Linked DNA regions of Homo sapiens: all the other regions are linked to region 1. The links are contacts of gene promoters, found by promoter capture Hi-C in blood cells and fetal thymus (Javierre and others, 2016). All regions are on one chromosome and are shown on one strand. Each heading gives the region's core, a stretch centred on a gene start or on the middle of the fragment in contact. The rest is flanking DNA. Distances are from core to core; before and after follow the strand shown. Region 1 holds the start of ERMARD (ER membrane associated RNA degradation). Region 2 overlaps PSMB1 (proteasome 20S subunit beta 1). Region 3 has its middle 32 kb from the start of PSMB1. Region 4 overlaps LINC01624 (long intergenic non-protein coding RNA 1624).

Region 1 (3,099 bases), core at 304-2,803:
GTTAAGGTACCAGGGGAATCTGCAAACAATTCTTACTCCATTAGTTTCCGAATATGTATCTACCTTCCCAATTTCCTGCCCTTTGAAGCCTAAAACTGCTCTCCTGTGTCCTGTCACTTCTCTGCAAATCTACAGTTCTTTGTTGAAGATGGTATACAAATGTAGTTCTAAGCCACCATTTCAAGTTACTTCTCATTAAGGTTTATCCCTTGTGATGTGTACTCTGTCCAAGAATAAACTTTTTTCTTGTTATCCTTTCATTTGTTAAAGGGGTCACTCCGAACTAAGATGGGCAGAGGTAAAGTTTAGCCTTCCCTGCCATGTAAAAAGTAGCAAACCGTACTGGTTTTCCATGGAGAATTAAATACAATCGAAATCCTCACAATTACCCCACATGACACTAAGACCATCGTATAAACCTGCAAAGAAGTCAAATTCAGGATCTAAAGCGGAACCGAAGCTCTTTATTTTGGTGTGTTGAGTTAAGGGGGGGCTGTGTTGTGACAGTCATAATTAGCTCTGGGCAGCTTCCTAATGTGGAAACTGCTATCAGTTGCCCTGTTTGCTCCTCCTGCACCCAGAAGTTGCACTTTCCACTCTCAGCCCTGGTTTTCGAACAATCCCAGCAGGCCCTAACAATTAAGTCATCACTAAAGAAATCTACATCAACTATTTGTTGATTGGCGATTGTCACTCGCATCCTCCATGTGGCTCTATGGGGCTGGAACTCTGCAGACTACACTGGGCCGGTGCTTTGGAGCTGGACTTAAATTTGAATCATTCCTCAGCCTCTGACTACCTCTTGCCTTGGAAAAGTTACTTTATCGGAATCTCAGTTCTAAGTGAAATAAAACGGTGCCAGGCTGCACCTGGTAGGGCTACAGTAATCAGATAACACATGAAAAGCATCTAGCACATAGTACTCAAAAATGGTAGTTATCGTTATCATCATTTTGGAGACGGGGTCTCGCCGTCGCCCAGACAGGGGTGCAGTGGCGCGATCTCGGCTCACTGCAGCCTCCACCTCCTGGGCTAAAGCGATCCTTCCACCTCAGCCTACGGAGTAGATGGGACCACAGGCCCCACCACGCCCGGCGATGAACACAAATTTACTGTCCGAGTGTGGACCCTACAGGCAGCGACTAGGAAACTGCGCTTCTAGGAACGAGCCACGGTCAGGTGAGAGCCCGACCTGCGGCTTTCCGCCCCCGCGCCACCGCGCACAGCCCTCCCTGACCGTCCGCCGCGTTCCAGCTCAGGGCCAGGAGGCGACGGAGAAACCGAGCCTGGCCCAGGGAGGCCGGCAGGGCCCGCCAGGCGTCTTGCAGGGCCGAGCGTCCGATACCGCCACAGAGGCCAGGGCCGCGACGTCGCCAGCGCCCTCCAGCGCGGGACCGCCGGCCACCGCAGGCGCGTGCTCGCTCGCCCACTCCGCGTAGCCGAGCACCACCCAGCCTGGCGCCGACTCCCTGCCTAGCTCGGGATCGAACCGGGCCCTACACCCGCCCTACCTCCATAACTTCCGGTGCCCCGCTGCGGCGCGCGTGAATGACGCAGGCGCCTGCGCGCCCCTCCTCCAGGCGCTTTGGAGCCCTGGCGGGCACTTCCTACCGTACGAGGCGCAGGTGGGAGACTTCCGCCCTCGCGGGACTGGCTAGGGCGTTTGACCGCCGGCGGTGAAGGGGAGGCGGTGGGCGTCTTGGAGAACAGAGCGAGATGGAGAAGCGAGGCCGAGGCGTGAAGTCGAGCCCCATCCAGACCCCGAACCAGACCCCTCAGCAGGCTCCGGTGACGCCTAGGAAAGAAAGGAGGCCTAGCATGTTCGAGAAGGAGGCAGTGAGTGCGGAGACTGCTAGGGGCCCGAGACGGCTATGTCCGACCGTTTAAGTGAAATCGCTCCCCAGTGGGCCCCGCTCCCGTCACCACCCCCAGAGCCAAGGAGGCAGCATCTCCCTTTTGTGTTTCTTTTTTCCCCAGATGCGAAATTGAAGCCTGAGACTGAGTTGGGCAGTCCCCTTTGGACTTGAGTGCTAAAGTTTTCTTGTTTTTTAATTAGGGCCATAGAACCCTACATAAGTCGATTGGAAGGGTGGTTACAAGATCTTCTTTTCAAATTTACTCAGCTTGCGGATTTCCTGAGAGTACTCTGAGTATTATTGCTTTGTACTAAAACACAGTATGTTAGTGTATTTAGTGCCATTATAAGCAGTTTTGCTAGCGAAAAATGAGTGTGTTGTATTAAAAAAATAATTTGATAAACCAGGCAGAATAGTGCCATGTTTTGGGTTTTTAAAACATCAGCAGTCTGGATATTTGAAGAATGTACAGGAGAAAAAAACTTAAGTTGAAAATACCCTGTCCAAAACTTACTGATATTGATGGAAAGGGTCATTATTCAGTTTTATTGGTGGTATAACAGGTATTTCTATATGATTAGGCTTTGAAAACCGTTAATGTATTAAAGACTCTATATTTTATTGATACTTTAACAGAAAATTAGTTTGCCCAAGGATACAAAGCTGTAATGATAGAGCTGGGACCAGAACCTGTATGCTAGTACTCGGTCCAATTGGCCTATACTGGTTTCTCTTCGTACTTACTTCGTGGACCTATAATAGGATGAAGATAGAGATGACAGGCAAAACAATTTTTTGAAGACCCTAAAACATTTTAAGATTACTCTTAAAAAGAGAATTCTCAAAATAATGGCGAAATTTCAGGTTCTTGTTTCCCTGGTGTCTACATTTTACAGAGGAAAGAACGAACTAAATAAAGGAGGAAAAGCAAACAGGCCAAGTTTACACAGCTAAGAAAAAGAGCAGAGCAGGGCTAGAAACCTAAATCAGTTGGACTTAAAACTTCACACTCCCAAACACTATGCTGTATTTCTTGGCAATGAGTCTGAGTAACAGGTCACCAACAGTAAAGAAAAATTTCTATATATTGAGGCAGACAAGGGTGGCTTTTATAAACTTACTGCCTATCTGAGGTCTGAAGTGGTCTTTAAAATTCAATGAGCCTGAACTCAAAATGAGGAGACACATAGGTGCACCTGGTATATAGGTTAAAATCTGGGAGTGAGGGGACATGGACCAAAGT
Region 2 (3,099 bases), core at 419-2,918, 790 kb before region 1:
ACTTATTTTTTGTCTTTTTAAAAAAAATCCTGTTTACTTTCTTTGCAGTTTTCTGTATTTCATCAGAATGTTTTTTTTTTCATGTTATGTGTTCATTTTTGGCCTCTGTCTTCTATGTTAGAGGCTTCCTTCAAATCTCTGATTTTTTTTTTTTTTTTTTTTTTTTTGCTGTCCATTCACATTGAAGAGTCTTGTACCAAAATTTGATTATGAAAGTCCTTGTTGACATGGCTTGTCAACTGACAGCCGTTAACTGGGTGCTTAAGTAAGCAGCATTTTCTTCAGATGAAGAATTTCTTTAATCTTTTTTCCTGAGGTGAGGTGGGACTACAGGAAGAGAAGCCCGGTTGGCAGCTTTTTAGGCCTCAGAGGAGGAAGGGGGCTGAAGGTCTGTGTTTTGTTTACATCAACTTTCCATTTCATGTGTTTTGCTCCTACCCTTTGCCACTCTAGAGCCTGGTCCCCTAAGTCCAGAGCCTCTGCTAATGTCTCAGGAGACTTCCTTTACTGTCTTCTGTGTTGGTGGATGCAGGGACCTGGAGAGCAGTGCTCCATATTGAAACCTTCAGGACAGCAAGGTCCACAGCTCTTTCCCTTGGTGTCAACCGCTGTCTGCACTAACCTCTCTGTCTTTAATCTCTTAGCTGCTCTCATGCCTTTTAAAAATTTTTCTCCCAAATTAAAAGTGGCTTTAGTTTTTCTGTAGTGAAAACAATCAGTACATGTTTATACATACACTCATGCAGTTTTATGTAAGTAGGACTTTGGTATCTGTTTTTCTGTAACTATACATTATGTATTATCAAGGAGATCTAAGCTATATGCATAATGATTTTTGTATTTAATTAACAAAAAATTTTTTTGTCTTCTGTTTTTGCTGCTGTAATACATAGCATCATTTACCTAACCAGTCCTCTAAAGGGCATTTTGGCTTCCTGTTTTCTTAATATAAACACTATGATGAACATCCTTGTACATACATTTTTGTGTACTTCCCCAATTATGCTTGTCTTGCTAGAATAAACTTCGAGTAGTTGAAGTATTGGGTCAGATAAATTTTTTTTTGTATTTTGTTGAGTATACTCTTTCTGAAGGATACGCCAGTACCCTGAGTACCCGATTTTATATAACCTTCCCAGTATTAGAATTAACACATTTTGAAACATCTTTTTGCCTATTGAACAGTTTATTATTTTCATTTATATATATTCTTGGGCATGTTTTCATATGTTTATTGACTTTATAAATTTCCTCTTTGGAGACTGATTCATATATTAACTGTTGCCCATTTCCTTATTTGCAGGTTAGTTTTCTTCTTACTGATTTTCAAGAACTACATTCGACTGTGTCAAATGTCTGTGATATTATAGATACTCCCAAGAGTGTTATTTGTCTCTTTTGGGTGGTGCCTTTTGCTACACAGAAATTGCTGTGTTTCATACAGTCTAATCTGTCAATCATTTCTTTATGACATTCAGTTTCTTGCCTTGTTAGAAAAACTTCTCCCATCCAAAGCTTAGCTGTATTTCTTTTAAGACTTGTCTGATTTTATTTTTTACATTGAAATGATTGTGCTTTTTGGATTTTACTTTGATGAGGAAAAGCACTTTGTAATCAAGATTCATGCCATTCTACATTTATTTTTGTTTTTATTTATTGATTTTTGCTGTTTTATACTGATTTTACTAGTGTCTCTCTTGCTTCTTCTAGGGGGTCTTTAAAGCTGTGTTCTTGGACATAGCCCACCCTTTCTTTGGTTTATTTTTTTAAATTTGTTGTGTGTGGTTTTCTGAGATTGGTTCCATCCTTGGGTAAAGCTTTTGGGCCTCAGTTTACTTGTGGCCTGTCATCCTCATGAGAGATACAATCATTTTTCTGCCTTTACACCTTACATCTCTTTCTTTTTTTGTATATTGAGGTTAGTGGATTGCCTGCTGTGATCTCATGTCTTGTCCCAAGCTTGCTTCCAGCAAAAATACTTCCCAGTTTCTTAGGTGACCTCAGATGGTGCCTTCTCCACCAGAGAATTCAGTTTACACAATCCTTTTTCTTTTTTTGAGACCAAGTCTCGCTCTGTTGCCCAGGCTGGAGTGCAGTGGCATGATCTCGGCTCACCACAACCTCCGCCTCCTGGGTTCAAGCGATTCTCCTGCCTCAGCCTCCCAAGTAGTTGGGAATAGAGGCACGTGCCACCATGCTCAGCTAATTTTTGTATTTTTAGTAGAGATGGGGTTTCACTGTGTTGGCCAGGCTGATCTCGAACTCCTGACCTCGTGATCGGCCCACCTCAGCCTCCCAGAGTGCTGGGATTACAGGCGTGAGCCACCGCGCCTGGCCAAGTTTACGCAGTTCTATAGTAGAAAACATACAAAGCTAACAGTGGCAGTTGTACATGGTTAGTAAGGAGATTGTCCCTATATCACATCTCCCAGGGTACTGAGTTCTGGTATATAATGTGTTTTCTAAATCAGTTATGTTTTTAAAAAATCATACCTTGTAAATGACTCGTGATTTCTCATACCCAGAACACGGTTGTTTTTAACAGGCCTTTTTAACGATTGTAGAATCACCTGTGTTCTTTGTAACAAACTCAAATAAGATAGAAGCACATGAATTAATTCCCTTCTTTTCTTGCCTCTAATTCAGAGCTCAAAGATGACCAGCCACAGTTACTTATCTTTCCAGACTTTTTTGTGCTTGTACAAATAGTTTTCTTATTCTTTTAAACAAAAGCAGTATCGTATTTTACAGGTTACAGAATTCTCTTCGTTTTACTGTGTCTTGCGGATGTGTCCCTTGGACCTGTCTATATACATAAGTCGTGCTTTCCTTCAAGTTCTCCTCTTCGTTAGCTTAGGAGAGCCAAGAAATAAAGACTTTCTTACAAATGACTGTTTGAGTTTGGCTGATGTGTCCTACAGAAACCTCACCATCTCTCTCTGTGTTCTCCCTACTCTCTTACGGGTCCTTACCTACTACCATGGCTTGGATTATTTTTGTGTATTCTCATGGCTTCCAACTGTTTTACATCTGCAGTGGTTAATTCTCTTGTCATCTTTACCTGAAGATCATAAAAATGCCTTTCTCCCTCTTACCCAC
Region 3 (3,099 bases), core at 202-2,701, 770 kb before region 1:
CCTCCAGAATGCATCTGAGCAGGGCTCACTCAGCAGGTGGATGACTTGGGGCCTCAGAGAAACCCTGGGTTTTCCAAGGAGCCCTGAATGTTTATAAGACATCAGGTTAGAACAGGAGTCCAGGGGCGATATGTTAGAAAACCTAACAAGAACTGGACATTTACAAGAAGTCAGGTGTAAGGACTGAGGAGACGTGGTTTCTTTACTTTTGCAGAACAGCTGTGCAGCCAGTCCCTGGGATGGGCTCCTGTCCGGGGCTGCGCACTCACAGGCTGCCAGAGTGAGCAATGGAAAGGCAGGTTAGGCTTCTCCCCATGCTACTCAGGCCGCTGTGCTCCACCACAGCCTACGGGAGGCAGCCAAGCTCCTCTGCTACGTGTACTGTCAGAGGCTGGTCACCTCCCCTCACTTTTAAGGGTCTCTGACCCTCACTTTTCTGGCAACAGCAAGTTGCTTATCGTTGCCCAAAGATACTGAAGTGGTTGTAGGCTCTGGAATCCAAAAGACAGAGAATCAGGCCTACCCCATCTCTTCCTGTCTGTGTGGCCTCAGGCAGTTAGTGGAAGTCCGTAGGCCTTGCTCCCTCACTTATGAAATGTGGATGATAGTACCTTCCTCATAGGCACCCAGTGAAGAGTACATGAGATAATGTTTGTAAAGCTCTTGTTCCAGTGCCTAACACAGTACGTCCTCAGTGAATCACAGTTATTCCTGTTATGCCTTACAGGCTATTTTCCCAGCGGGGACCCACAACCCCTCCATGCACCCCTAGCTCCCATATGCCTGGAAACTCACATTCATCTTTCAAACGTGAGTCAAGTTTTGACTCAAGTGTGCCTCTCTGTGAAGCTGCCTCTGATCCCGTCCCCCGCCTTCTTTTTCTCTGTCCATTTCCATTTCTTATGACTGCATAGTATTCCATAGTGTATATGTACCACATTTTCTTTATCTAATCCACTGTTGATAGGCACCTAGGTTGATTCCATGTCTTTGCTATTGTCAGTAGTGCTGTGATGAATGTGTGTGTGCATGTCTTTTTTTCTTTTTGAGACAGAGTTTCGCTCTTGTTGCCCAGGCTGGAGTGCAATGATGTGCAAACTCTGCCTCCTGGGTTCAAGCAATTCTTCTGCCTCAGCCTCCTGAGTAGCTGGGATTACAAGCATGCGCTACCACACCTGGCTAATTTTGTATTTTTAGTAGAGACAAGGTTTCTCCATGTTGGTCAGGCTGGTCTCAAACTCCCAACCTCAGGTCATCCTCCAACTTCGGCCTCCCAACGTGCTGGGATTACAGGCGTGGGCCACTGTGCCCAGTGCATGTGTCTTTTTGGTAGAATGAATTGTTTTCATTTGGATATATACCCAGTAGTGGGATTGCTGGGCCAAATTGTAGTGCTGTTTTAACTTTTTCAAGAACTCTTCAAACTGCTTTCTATAGTGGCTGAACTAATTAACCTTCCCACCAACAGTGTATAATTATTCCTTTTTCTCCACAGCATCACAGCATCTGTTGTTTTTTGACTGTTTAGTAATAGCCATTTTGACTGGTGTGAGATGGTATCTCATTGTGGTTTTGATTTGCATTTCTCTGATGATTAGTGATATGGAGCATTTTTTTGCGTTTGTTGGCTGCATGTCTGTCTTCTTTTGAGGAGCGTCTTTTCATGTCTTTTGCCCATTTTTTAATGGGGTTGTTTTTTGCTTGTTCATTTGTTTAAGTTCCTTGTAGGTTCTGGATATTAGACCTTTGTCAGATGTGTGTTTTTTGAATATTTTCTCCCATTCCGTAGGTTGTCTGTTTACTCTGTTGATAGTTTCTTTTGCTGTGCAGAAGCCCTTTAATTATGTCCCACTTGTCAATTTTTGTTTTTGTTGAAATTGCTTTTGAGGACTGAATTACAAGTTCTTTCCTAAGGCTAATGTCTAGAATGGTTTTTCCTAGGTTTTCTTCTAGGATTCTTAACAGTTTGAGGTCTTACATTTAAATCTTTAATCCACATGAACTAATTTTTGTATACGGTGAAAGGTAGGAATCCAGTTTCATTCTTCTGTGTATGACTAGACAGCGAACCCAGCACCATTTATTGTTTAGAGAGCCCTTTCCCCATTGCTTATTTTTGTTGACTTTGTTGAAGATCAGATGGCTGTAGGTGTGTGGCTTTATTTCTGGGTTCTGTATTCTGTTCCATTAGTCTATGTGTCTGTTTTTGTACCAGTGCCAAGTTATTTTGGCTACTGTAGTATTATAGTATAGTTTGAAGTCGGATAATGTGATGCCTCTGGCTGTGTTCTTCTTGCTTAATATTGCTTTGGCTATTTGGATTTTTTTTTGTTCCATATGAATCTTACAGTAGTTTTTTCTAGTTATTTGAAAAATGACATTGGTAGTTTGATAGGAATAGCATTGAATCTGTAGATTACTTTGGGCAGTATGGCCAGATTAATGATACTGATTCTTCCAGTCCATGGGTAGGGAATGTTTTTCCATTTGTTTGTATCATCTATGATTCCTTTCAGCAGTGTTTTGTAGTTCTTCTTGTAGAGATCTTTCACCTCCTAGTTAGATGTATTCCTAGGTATTTTATTTTCTTTGTGGCTGTTGTAAATGAGATCATGTTCTTGATTTGGTTCTCAGCTTGAATGTTATTGGTGTATAAAAATGCTACTGATTTTTATACATTGACTTTGTATTCTACAACCTTACTGAAATTGTTTATCAATTCTAGGAGCCTTTTGGTGGAGTATTTAGGGTTTTCTAGGTATAGAAACATATCATCTGCTAAGAGAGATAATTTGACTTCTTTTTTTCCTATTTGTATGTCTTTTATTTTTTTCTCTTGCCTGACAGCTTTGGCTACCACTTCCAGTACTATGCTGAATAGGAGTGGTGAGAGTGAGCATCCTTATCTTGTTCCAGTTCTCAAGGGGAATGGTTCTAGTTTTTTGGCTATTCAGTGTGTTGTTAGCTGTGGGTTTATCATAGACAGCTCTTGTTATTTTGAAGGGTGTTCCTTTGATACCTAGTTTCTTGCGGGTTTTTATCATGAAGGGATGTTGGATTTTATTGAAAGCTTTTTCTGTGTCTGTGGAGATGATCATA
Region 4 (3,099 bases), core at 273-2,772, 530 kb before region 1:
GGTAGCAGAGTCTCAGGCTCGCTGGTGGCGCGCCTAGGTGATTGCCCACTCTGCTGAGTCCTTGAAAGGGAAACGGCAGCGTCTGCAGCAGTGCTGGGAGCACCTCCTCCCGTCTGCAGGGGACGGTGCCTTTCAGGGCACGGTTCTGCGCATGTGCTCAGCTGGCGCCAGCGAACGGCTTCCGGCTGCTCTTAGCGTGGAGTTCAAAATCCTTGACTTGGCCTCTCAGGTCATGCACCATCCGGCTCCCGCCTGTCTTGGAGCCTCGTTTCGTTATTCTCCCACGGGTCTGTTACCGCTCGGCTCCAGCCAGCGCCCTGGCAGCCTGGTTCTCCATCCGCCCCCACTCTGCGACTTTGAGTGGGATCTTCCATCTGTCTGGTGACTTCCAGTGTGACCTTCTTCCGCCACGAAAATGACCCGCCTGGGTTACCTGCCGCACGTGATGGTGCTCTTGCAGTTTGCCCTGTGGCATGATTAATTCGTGTAGCTGTTTGTTTAGTGGGCGTGTGTCCCAGGAGACTGCAACCTCAAAGAGGGCGGGCTGTGTTGGCCCTGGTTCACCACTGCAACCCAATCCCCACTTGAGGCTGAAGCAAGAAAACGTTCTCTATCCATGTGAGCTATAATTTGAGAACACACAGACACACACTCAGGACATTTCATCATGAAAGAAGCTTCATTCTCGTGTTCACTCTTACCAATGTCACTAGGAGTTTCGAACCATAACATGAAGCCAAACACAGGGATTATCTGAGCGGATGAACATAGTATTCTGTTTTTATTCTAATAACTGGCTGCCTAGATACAGCCCTGTATATGGTAAGAGTGCGTCTACTTGGTATCCAGCAAACAAAGTGTTATGCATTAGTAATTCCTCAGTCCATGCATTTTACAGAAAAGGCAGAGGGAAGGTAAATCGTTTCCTGAGGAACAGCTGAATGTCTAGAAACGTCAAGATGAAGAGTAGAATTTTGCATGCAAGGACACGCGCCATGAGCACCAGGCCTCACACGCAGGAGGCACACAGTACGTCTGTGTTGAATGTAGTATCTTCCACTACAAGGATAAGGAAACAAAAAGTACTTAGAAACTTTACACATTTGTCATTTGGAAACAATTCAGAGATAAGTTTTTAAGATGATATGTATTAGTGCAGAGTACTAGAATTTTTCCGGAACAACTTTCATTACATTTATTTGCTCAAACAAGTGACTATTTCCATTTTGGAGAAGCCCAACTGAGCTAAATCACTTTGCCACTGAGGAGGGCTGGGGAGGTGGCAGGGGTGCCATCAAGGTGTCGTCTGGCTAACACACATTCTTTCTATTTTTCTTGTTTCTTATGGAAACATTCATGGCTCCACGCCTGGCATTTGCTGAATCCATCTTCTAGAGATTACGATTTTAATAGAATCCGGAGTGAGGTACCTGAGGAAGGCAGAATGAAGCAGCATTTTAAAATGTATTGCAACATGAGCATCAGAACCTTTTGTTTTTTTTAAAGCACAGAAAAGAAAAATGACAAGACTCATGTCATTAATTACGTTCTCAAAGAAAATAAGGTCAGTGTAAGAGGAAATCATCTAAAATTGCAGGACAGGGCATTCTCGTTGGATCGAGGCATGAAGAAAACTTCAAGGCTGTCAGTGGTTTATCGAGGAAGTGGTAGAATCTTCCTCGGATACGATTTTTAGAAGACAAGCCAACCTTCCATGGCAAGAGGTGCAGACGTGTGCCTCAGCTGCCAAGGGCCTCCCAGGCTGTTTCCTGTGCACCAACTTCCTCTGCTTCCTCGGTGTCTAAACCCATGGTCAAAGCACCATTCACGAAAAGCATGTTACTGTTTTAAGTTAATTTGAACTTTAAAATTATTGAACCATAAGGAAAAATATCTCTGCTTTGTGGTCCTGGATATTTTACAAGAACCTTGATTCCTTTAGTGAATCTTAATTCACAGCTCAGTGCTGGGATATTCAACAAATAAAATCACTTTTCAGAGACAGGATCAGAATCTGCTACTTCCTGCTCCTCAGCCTGCCTTGCCAAACCCCCAAGTGGCACCCTGGTGTAGACATTATGGACCTCAACAGCAGTACTTTAGCCTGATGCCTAGAACCTCTTACACTTTTATGGAAGTGGCCTAAGAGTGTTTGTGACGGGATTCGTGGTGTCTCCAACTTTCTCTCTTGCGCTGTCCCACCCTGACCTGTGGGGGGAGAGAGGAAGGAAGGAAGAAGGGGGGAAGGGCGTCTGGTGTCAGACGCTTACAATAGGAATTGCTCACCTGCAGAAGGGCAAGTATTGTTTCTTCTAGAATTAGTATGAATTGGATTTTGTGAATTTCAGCTCTTTCTTAGAAGCTTAGAAAAAAATTTGGTATAAACATTTGAAATAAAAAAATGCAATAAGCAACAGAGTTAGATCTTGTCTCTACAAAAAAATTTTAAAAGAATTAGCTGAGTGTGCTGGTGGCACCTGTGGTCCCAACTACTCAGGAGGCTGAGGCAGGAGGACGGCTTGAGCCCAGGAGGCCGAGGCTTCAGTGAGCTGTGATTGCGCCACTGCACTCCAGCCTGGGGGACAGAGCAAGACTTCATCTTAAAAAAAAAAAAAAAAGCAATATTAAAAAGGTGTATTGAAAAGGGAAAAACACTCTAAATTTGAGAGTTTTAGTTAAAATGAAAAAGCAACAGTTAGGACCATTTCTGATCCTCAAAGTCAATACTTTTGAAACAGGAGAGGGAAGGGAGGTGGGGGAGCCCTGGAGCTGCTCCCAACGAGTGGGGCAGGGGCCTCAGACGCAGGCTCTAGAGCCCAGGCTGGACCTGGCAGAGGACAGTTCAGTGTCTCTGTAGTCAAACAGGTGTCAGAAATATCATGAAACCCCCAGTTTATTCGTCATGATTACACTCTAGCCCTGACTGGGTTTTTTGCTCATTTTTTGCTCAGTAGCTTAAAGTTAATGTTGAAAATGTCAAAGAGGCCTGCAGATACCCCTAGAGAGACAGCAGTTTGTTAAAGGGGATAAAGGGGAAGTGTTTATGTTTATAGCACAGAAAGTCAAGCTGTTAGAGAAACTGGACAATGGTGTAAATGT

What was found. Contacts are between HindIII fragments. The CHiCAGO score rates a contact against its expected background, and 5 or more counts as called.
Region 2: a contact is called between a fragment that was not itself captured here and the fragment with the promoter of ERMARD in region 1, in 16 of 17 cell types (monocytes, total CD4 T cells, M1 macrophages and 13 more). The highest score is 19.3, in monocytes.
Region 3: a contact is called between a fragment that was not itself captured here and the fragment with the promoter of ERMARD in region 1, in 8 of 17 cell types (endothelial precursors, total B cells, monocytes and 5 more). The highest score is 8.4, in endothelial precursors.
Region 4: a contact is called between a fragment that was not itself captured here and the fragment with the promoter of ERMARD in region 1, in 1 of 17 cell types (activated CD4 T cells). The highest score is 5.8, in activated CD4 T cells.

Annotation. Positions count from the first base shown.
Region 1 is chr6:169,750,076-169,753,174 of GRCh38, reverse strand. ERMARD (ER membrane associated RNA degradation) reads right to left here and starts at 1,553. Exons shown (of 18, transcript NM_018341.3): 1 at 1,512-1,553. The coding sequence starts at 1,517. It overlaps DYNLT2 (dynein light chain Tctex-type 2), which reads left to right and starts at 1,603. Exons shown (of 4, transcript NM_174910.3): 1 at 1,603-1,836. The coding sequence starts at 1,717. The HindIII fragment of the contact is 8,653 bases long and covers 1-3,099 here.
Region 2 is chr6:170,537,657-170,540,755 of GRCh38, reverse strand. All of the region lies in intron 4 of PSMB1 (proteasome 20S subunit beta 1), which reads left to right. Among named protein-coding and RNA genes, the nearest start is that of PSMB1, 14 kb to the left of the region's middle. The HindIII fragment of the contact is 302 bases long and covers 1,518-1,819 here.
Region 3 is chr6:170,520,237-170,523,335 of GRCh38, reverse strand. No RefSeq gene overlaps it. Among named protein-coding and RNA genes, the nearest start is that of PSMB1, 32 kb to the left of the region's middle. The HindIII fragment of the contact is 3,242 bases long and covers 1-3,072 here.
Region 4 is chr6:170,277,540-170,280,638 of GRCh38, reverse strand. It overlaps LINC01624 (long intergenic non-protein coding RNA 1624), which reads right to left. Exons shown (of 2, transcript NR_104177.1): 2 at 1,170-1,430. Among named protein-coding and RNA genes, the nearest start is that of LINC01624, 6.6 kb to the right of the region's middle. The HindIII fragment of the contact is 1,685 bases long and covers 680-2,364 here.